Regions from separate parts of the Homo sapiens genome. Here region 1 is linked to region 2. The links are contacts of gene promoters, found by promoter capture Hi-C in blood cells and fetal thymus (Javierre and others, 2016). All regions are on one chromosome and are shown on one strand. The core of a region is centred on a gene start or on the middle of the fragment in contact, and the rest is flanking DNA. Distances in the headings are between cores, read along the strand shown.

Region 1 (4,359 bases), core at 983-3,482, 120 kb before region 2:
TTTTCTTCACTGCTACCTACTCCAAGCTACCATCATCTCTTGCCTGGACTATCTTAAGAGCCTCTCAATTTATCTAATTGATCTATCTCTGCCATTTGTTTCCTACATATCAAATATATGAATTAACGAGGCAACTTATTTGCCTCCTATACACATCCTACATACAATGGTGGGAAAGGCTAGAGTTGCTCTACAGTTGCTCCCATGGCTAGAGTTGCTCTAGAGTTGCTCCCCTTCAAAACAAGGGAAAATGGGAGGCATACAGCAGAGACAACTCTGAAATCCAACTGATGTAGGTTGATTAGAGCTTAGTCCAATTGCCGGAGAGTTGTTCATTGTGGTTTCAGCTCCAATATCTGGGCTCTTGGTTACACTCTGAATCATCCTTCCTTTTCTATAAGAAAATTGAGTTTGTATCTGAGTAGCCTTCTCAGCCTGATTCCTCCCTATAAAAGGCATCTTTCCATTTTGTACTGTCTATGTCCCCATTAGTCCTAGCTGATAGATGCTTCTGCCAGAGCAATTCTCTTAGAAGCTTTGTGGGTTCCTTATGCATGAATTTATTATCCACTCCAACAAAAGCTACTCTCATAAATCTCTTTGAGATAAGCACTTCCTTCCCTTGAGAGACTGCTCCAAAATGTCCTTAAGATCTTTGGAGAGACTTTTTTTTCTATCAGATGGATTCTATAAAGCATCCTATAAAGCATTCTATAAAGGTCTTAACCTTTAACTTCTTTTTTAGATAATATTTTCCTGACAGTGTCTTGGATTTTACTTCTGCCCAGAGCCATTTCTTAACTTTAGAATCATTTACCATCTGGAGAGGCTGACAGTGAAAACAGTTTTATTTTCAAGCCAAGCCAAGTAAGTCCTGGTCCTAGATATAGATATGTGTGTGTGTGTGTGTGTGTATATATATATATATATATACACACACATATATATACACACATATATATACACATATATATACACATATATATATACACACACATATATATCAGCTTTATTGAGATATAATCCACATACCATACAAGTCTCCCATTTAAAACATACAATTCGATGTTTTTAGTATATTCACAGAGTTGTACAACTTTTACCATGATCAATCTTAGAACATTTTTATCACCCCAAAAAGGGACCTGGTACCCATTAATGGTCATACTCTGTCCCCCCTCACCCCTGCCACCTCTGTCTTAGTCTGTTTGTGCTGCTACAACAAAATACATGAGACTGAATAATTTATAAATAGTAGACATTTCTCACAGTTCTAGAGGCTTGGAAGTCCAAGATCAAAGCACTGGTGTTTGGCATCAGGTGAGGACCTTCTCACATGGCAGAAGAGATGGAACCCACCAACTCAAGCCCTTTTATAAGGGCCTTAATGCCATCCATGAGGGCTCGGCCCTTATTAGTCATCTCCTAAAGGCCCCACCTCTTAATACTATTACATTGGTGATTCAGTATCAACATATGAATCTTGGGGACACATTCAGAACACAGCACCCCACAACTCTCCCTGCCCAACCATAGGCAATCACTAATCTACTTGTCTCTATAGATTTGCCTATTCTGGGCATTTCATATGTTAAATAAAATGTATGGTCAGGCACAGTGGCTCACCTACCCAGCTAATTTTTTAAATTATCTGTAGAGATGAGGTCTTACTATGTTGCCCCGGGTGGTCTTGGGCTCAAGCAATCCTCCCTCCTCAGCCTCTCAAAGTGGTAGGATTACAGGTGTGAGCCACTGCACCCAGTCTTATAAATTGATTTTTTTTTTTTTTAAAAAAAGACAACTCAACCATCTGCAACAATAGGGGCTATGGTTCATCCCCCTAACCTCACTCATTCAGGTTTCTCCTCAGGAAGAGAGGCCTGTGAGAGCTGTAGAGGAACTTCTCTCCAATGATGTGGGGCAGGTGGATCTTGGCAGTGCAAGGGATGGGCTATGTGACCAAGGGGTGGACTGTGTGCACAATGTCTTACATCCACCTTCACAAAGAGAATCTGCTGTGAGGTGTAGAGGTAACTGCCGTACCTCTGGGATTTGCCACAGCATTCTTGCCAAGGCACGCTTTCCCTGGATTCATCCCAGCCAATGACCGAGCTCCAGGGCATACTACAGCTGGGCCATTTCTGCCTTATGTGGGACTCCTTCACTGGGCAATCAGCCTGGCCAAGAGTTTTTTCAGAGCTGCACTAACACTCGGAGCCTCTTCCTACCCAATCCTCCTTCTTTCCTTCTCTCCTCTCACGGGTGTCAGTCCTGCACCATGGCCTGAAGATTCTCCCTGTCTACTCCTGCTGCTTCTTATCTTTTCACTGCCATTTTCCACTTGAACTTTTTTCTTTTCTTTTTTTAGAGGCAGAGCCTTACTCTGTCACCCAGGCTGGAGTGCAGTGGCTCAATTATATCTCATTGTAACCTCGAACTCCTGGGCTCAAGCCGCCTCCCGTCCTCAGCCTCAATCTCTTGAGTAACTATCTGCCTTGAACTTGTGAGAGGACTCAAATTTATGCAGCTTTTAGCTGTTTCTAAGAAAAAGTTTGGTATGGGTGCTACCATAATGAAAGCCTAAAATGTGGAATTGGCTTTGAAACCACCTGGCTGACTGAGGCTGGAAGGACATTGAGGTGTGGCATGGTGGCTCACGCCTGTAATCCCAGCACTTTGGGAGGCTGAGACAGGTGGATCACCTGAGGTCAGGAGTTCAAGACCACCCTGGCCAATATGATGAAACCCTGTCTCTACTGAAAATAAAAAAATTAGCCGGGCGTGGTGGCAGGCACCTGTAATCCCAGCTACTCAGGAGGCTGAGACACGAGAATTGCTTGAACCTGGGGGACAGAGGTTGCAGTGAGCTGAGACTGCACCACTGCACTCCAGCCTGGGCAACAGAGTGAGACTCCATCTCAATAAATAAATTAATTAATTAAAATTTACAGGAGGCCATTGATTTGGACTAGGCTCCTGCACTCAGCCTAACAGACCAAACCAATGGAGTTTAACTACAGTGACTGAGCTGGGATTATAGGCATGCACCACCACACCCAGCTAATTTTTGTATTTTTAGTAGCGATGGGGGTTTCACCATGCTAGCCAGGCTGGTCTTGAACTCCTCACCTCAGGCGTTCCACCTGCCTTGGCCTCCCAAAGTGCTGGGATTACAGGCATGAGCCACTGCACCCAGCCTATTTTCTACATGATTTTGCAATGGCTTTCCAGCTTAAAATTTAGAGTCAATTTGTTCATATAAAGAGGATATCAAGTACCAATATCCTAAAATATTGACAAACTATTAAGTGTAAAACTCCCCCAAATTCAGTTTAATATGAAACATACTACATGTATCATAGAATTTTCAAATATCTCATGTCACATTAATAAAGAAAGGAAAAATTGGGTTACTGTTGCCAAAGATGTCACAGATAGTATAGAATTCTGACAGACAGGTCCAAGACAGGGAAGCAGTTTAAAACAAAACAAAACAAACAAACAAAACAGGTTTGACTTAATAGGTTATACTTAGAAAATGTTAGCCAATATTAGAGTACATATATTTTTGTCAAGAATTTCCATGGAGCTTTTATAAATATTGACCATGCTCCAGGTTACAAAACGAGTCTCAAACACCAAAGAATCAGTATACTTACCGCATTGGGTGTCTCATTATAACTGGAGGACAGTAAGAACAGTAACAGCAACACCTTAAAATACCCTGTATGTTGGAAAAACTTTAAATATAGTTACTGCTAAACTGATCAAAGAAGACACCATACAAGAAAGTATCAGAAAATACTTAGAACTGAATGATTTTAAGAGTGCTATATTGAAATTTATAGGATGTACTTAAGGAGAAATGCATAGCCTTAAGTGCTTATATTAGAAAAAAAGATAGGCTGGAATTTAAAGAGCTAAGCTTTAAAGTCAAGATGTTAGACAAAAATCAACAAAGAAAGCAGAAGTGGCCAGGCATAGTGGCTCACACCTGTAATCTCACCACTTTGGAGGCCAAGGCAGGAGAACTGCTTGAGGCCAGGAGTTCGAGACCAGCCTGGGCAGCATAGCGAGACCCCCAATCTCTAGAAAAAAATTTAAAAATTAGCCAGGCATGGTGTCTCAGTCTTTGCTACTTAGGAGACTGAAGCAAGAGGATCACTTGAGCCCAGGAGATCAAGTCTGAAGCGAGCCGTCATCACGTCACTGCACTCTAGCCTGGCAACAGAGCAAGACCCCATCTCTAAATAAATAAATAAAACAAAAAAAAAAAAAAAGGAAAGAAAGTAGAAGTAATGAGATAATAAAAATGAGAGGAGAAAAAACAACAGGAGAAACTAAGCAGAAAACAAATAT
Region 2 (4,029 bases), core at 304-2,803:
CTGCCTTCAAGATGTCCCACATGCAGCACAGACCCAACGTATCTAAAACGGAAGGCTGTCATTTTCCCTGCCTTCCCAACCCATATAACAACACACATCCGTGTCCCATGCTCCAACCACACTGAATTGCTTGCCCTTCTCACTTCCGTCTGCCAACAGTGAGTAGTTTGGTGTTCTTAGACCACAGGGGTGGGAGGGAAAGAGAGAGACAGCAGACAATCAGGCTGGGGTAGACAGACACCAGACCTTGATGCCAGGTGGAGGAATCTAGATGTATTGGCTGCTGTCCCAAGTTACTCTCCTCTGGCCTAAATCTCAGACTGGCCGTATAGTTTAATTTTTTCTCTTCCACCAAAGGTCATCTGTGTAGAAGATGACACAAAGGGGGACCCAGCACGGTGACCCGTGCCTGTAATCCCTGCACTTTCGGAGGCTAAGGAGGGAGGATCATTTGAGCCCAGGAGTTCGAGGCTGCAGCGAGTCATGATCGAGCCACTGCACTCCAGCCTTGACGCTGAGTGAGACCCTGTCTCTTAACAAAATATATTTAAAATTTAAAAAGAAGATTATACAAAGGGGTTATCTATCATCTTGGCCAGCAATGCAGGGCAAAACTTGAAACAACTTGGTCCTGCAGTATTTTCCAGATGCCAAATCCTCATTCTCTACTGTACAGCTCCTACAGTGTTTTGTGTGAGATGAGAGGGAGCATGGCGGGTCTCAGCTGGCTTTGCCCTGGGAAAAATTCCTCATTTCTGCACCGCCTCCCCAAAGCGGGGGCTAAGCCAGCGCCGTCTGCCTCTCCACCTAGACCAGACCCCTTCCCTAGATGCTCTTATTTCCCTGAAGCCTCACAACAACCCTGTGAGGTAAGCATTACCATCCCTTCATTTTACAGATGAAACTGAAGCTCAGGAAGGTTACGTTTCGGGCTCTAAATCCCGGAATCTTCGCTTCGATGCCATCCAGGCTTGGGCCACTGAGCTCAAGAAACGGGCCGACGGGTGACCAGACGGACGCCGGGACCAGCCCAAGTTCAGGGCTGAGGGCCGCCAGGTGGCGCGTTTCCCTCCCCCTACCCCTCGCGGCGGCTCGGGCGCACCTGAACCCAGCGGGGTGCGCCGGGGAAAGTAGGCGCGCAGGGTGGGGCGGGGAGTAGCCCTAATTCCCCAGCTCGGAGTGGGCAAGGAGCACGGTTTAGCTCAGCCGGCTGGCACCGCCAAGCGGCCGCCGGGCCGCATCAGCCCTCCTCCTGTTTGCGCTCCCCAGCGTGCAATTTATTTGGGGGGCTACCGGGGATTGAACGGAGCGGGCGAGCGCTGCCAGGAGGTGGGGCCGGCCCCACCTGTCGACTGCCCGTAGTAGGCAGGGAGAGGGCGGGGTTTGTCCCATAGGGCCCGCCCCCCAGTCCCTGGGTCCCGGGCGCGCGACGAGATATAAGGCAGTCAGGAAACAATGCGCCTGCAGCTCGCGCTCCCGCGCCGATCCCGAGAGCGTCCGGGCCGCCGTGCGCGAGCGAGGGAGGGCGCGCGCGCGGGGGGGGCGCGCTTGTGAGTGCGGGCCGCGCTCTCGGCGGCGCGCATGTGCGTGTGTGCTGGCTGCCGGGCTGCCCCGAGCCGGCGGGGAGCCGGTCCGCTCCAGGTGGCGGGCGGCTGGAGCGAGGTGAGGCTGCGGGTGGCCAGGGCACGGGCGCGGGTCCCGCGGTGCGGGCTGGCTGCAGGCTGCCTTCTGGGCACGGCGCGCCCCCGCCCGGCCCCGCCGGGCCCTGGGAGCTGCGCTCCGGGCGGCGCTGGCAAAGTTTGCTTTGAACTCGCTGCCCACAGTCGGGTCCGCGCGCTGCGATTGGCTTCCCCTACCACTCTGACCCGGGGCCCGGCTTCCCGGGACGCGAGGACTGGGCGCAGGCTGCAAGCTGGTGGGGTTGGGGAGGAACGAGAGCCCGGCAGCCGACTGTGCCGAGGGACCCGGGGACACCTCCTTCGCCCGGCCGGCACCCGGTCAGCACGTCCCCCCTTCCCTCCCGCAGGGAGCGGACATGGACTACGACTCGTACCAGCACTATTTCTACGACTATGACTGCGGGGAGGATTTCTACCGCTCCACGGCGCCCAGCGAGGACATCTGGAAGAAATTCGAGCTGGTGCCATCGCCCCCCACGTCGCCGCCCTGGGGCTTGGGTCCCGGCGCAGGGGACCCGGCCCCCGGGATTGGTCCCCCGGAGCCGTGGCCCGGAGGGTGCACCGGAGACGAAGCGGAATCCCGGGGCCACTCGAAAGGCTGGGGCAGGAACTACGCCTCCATCATACGCCGTGACTGCATGTGGAGCGGCTTCTCGGCCCGGGAACGGCTGGAGAGAGCTGTGAGCGACCGGCTCGCTCCTGGCGCGCCCCGGGGGAACCCGCCCAAGGCGTCCGCCGCCCCGGACTGCACTCCCAGCCTCGAAGCCGGCAACCCGGCGCCCGCCGCCCCCTGTCCGCTGGGCGAACCCAAGACCCAGGCCTGCTCCGGGTCCGAGAGCCCAAGCGACTCGGGTAAGGACCTCCCCGAGCCATCCAAGAGGGGGCCACCCCATGGGTGGCCAAAGCTCTGCCCCTGCCTGAGGTCAGGCATTGGCTCTTCTCAAGCTCTTGGGCCATCTCCGCCTCTCTTTGGCTGAAGCTGCCCGTGTAGTCCCCAACCGTGTCTGTCTGGCACGTGGGTGTGTTGGTAAACAGTTTGGAAAAGTGGCGTGGGAGCCAGCCTCCCTTTGATGATTATTGGAGCCCCAGGGGACAAGGGATTTGAGGTGAGGGTTGGCGCTTAGAGAGGACAATACTGGGGTTGGACTGTAAGGGATTGAAGGGGGTACCTTAAGAGACACTCCAAACCTGAAGTTTTTTTGCTGCTGCCTCTTTCCCTAGGAAACTCACACTCCCCTAGGGGGAGAAGAAGCCGAGAGCCTTTTGTGCAAAGCCAAAACCTTCGTCCTTTTAAAAACCTAGGTCTCCAGTTGGCTTTACTTTAAAATGCCAATAATAAATGCCCTCTTCTCGTGCCTCCCCACCACCACTTACCACTCGTGCATCCCTGAGACAGGGAGGGAAGAATGAACACTCCCCATTAACAGATGGAAAAACTGAGGCTTAGAGATAGACAATCACTACAAGTCAGCTCCAGCTTTCTGCCATCTAGCCAGCCCCTCTTCCCCAATGCTCCATCCCAACCAGGCACCTCTTCCTTGATGTTTGGGGTCTTTGTGGTAGCTTATCTTAGAAGCACTACACCTTGCCTTGCTGTTTGTCCTGAGATGGAAAAGTGTCCTTCTTGCTCCCCCTCAATAGATCTCCAGCGTCAGCTGCTCCCTGGCATTCAACAAATATTCACTGGCCCCTACTTTGTGGCAATCTGTGGGCTACATGCTGGGGTCAAGGCAGTAGAACTCCAGGCCCTCCTCTCCCATCCTTGATGCAAGTGCAACCTCGCTGAGGGCAGACTGGGGCATCCTGTGCCACTAAACTACATTGTTCTTATTCTGGCATCTTAGACCTCCACACCCGTGAGAAATCCTGGAGAGGGTATTTTTGTAGAGTGTAGACTGTGGCTAGTGACAAATAAATTAGGACCAAGAAAGCTCACTGTAGCTTTTAGGAATAACTTTTACACGACCATTTGATAGGGAACTGGGGAATGGGGTATGGAAGTTTTCCTACACTTGAGAGAAAAAATAGGATAACAAAAATTAAAAGTCTTTTTTTTCCTGGTCCACTGTGTTAAGGTCATTTTTAACCAGCTTGCTTTCTACACCAAGAGTTTATGTTTGTTTAATGGCTGGAAAGAGAATCTTGAGATCAAAAAACCAATAAAGATGTATCTCTACAACGGCTGGTGGAGTGGTAGAGTGGAAAGAGCATTGCTTTGGAAGTTGGACATTTTAGTTTGAGATCCAGAACGTTACAAAGGTGATATGTGGACTTCGCTGATCTGGGCCTCAGTTTCCCCATTTGCACACGATGGGGTTGGACTTGATTGTCCTGCTGATGACATTTCCTT

The links. Contacts are between HindIII fragments. The CHiCAGO score rates a contact against its expected background, and 5 or more counts as called.
Region 1: a contact is called between a fragment that was not itself captured here and the fragment with the promoter of MYCL in region 2, in 2 of 17 cell types (M1 macrophages and M2 macrophages). The highest score is 6.6, in M1 macrophages.

What each region holds. Positions count from the first base shown.
Region 1 is chr1:40,024,074-40,028,432 of GRCh38, reverse strand. The region is part of intron 2 of LOC105378669 (a long non-coding RNA gene); the gene reads left to right. Among named protein-coding and RNA genes, the nearest start is that of CAP1, 14 kb to the left of the region's middle. The HindIII fragment of the contact is 3,390 bases long and covers 538-3,927 here.
Region 2 is chr1:39,899,441-39,903,469 of GRCh38, reverse strand. MYCL (MYCL proto-oncogene, bHLH transcription factor) reads left to right here and starts at 1,553. Exons shown (of 2, transcript NM_001033081.3): 1 at 1,553-2,531. The coding sequence starts at 2,036. RefSeq lists silencers at 980-1,189, 1,450-1,769, 2,180-2,299. The HindIII fragment of the contact is 9,554 bases long and covers 1-4,029 here.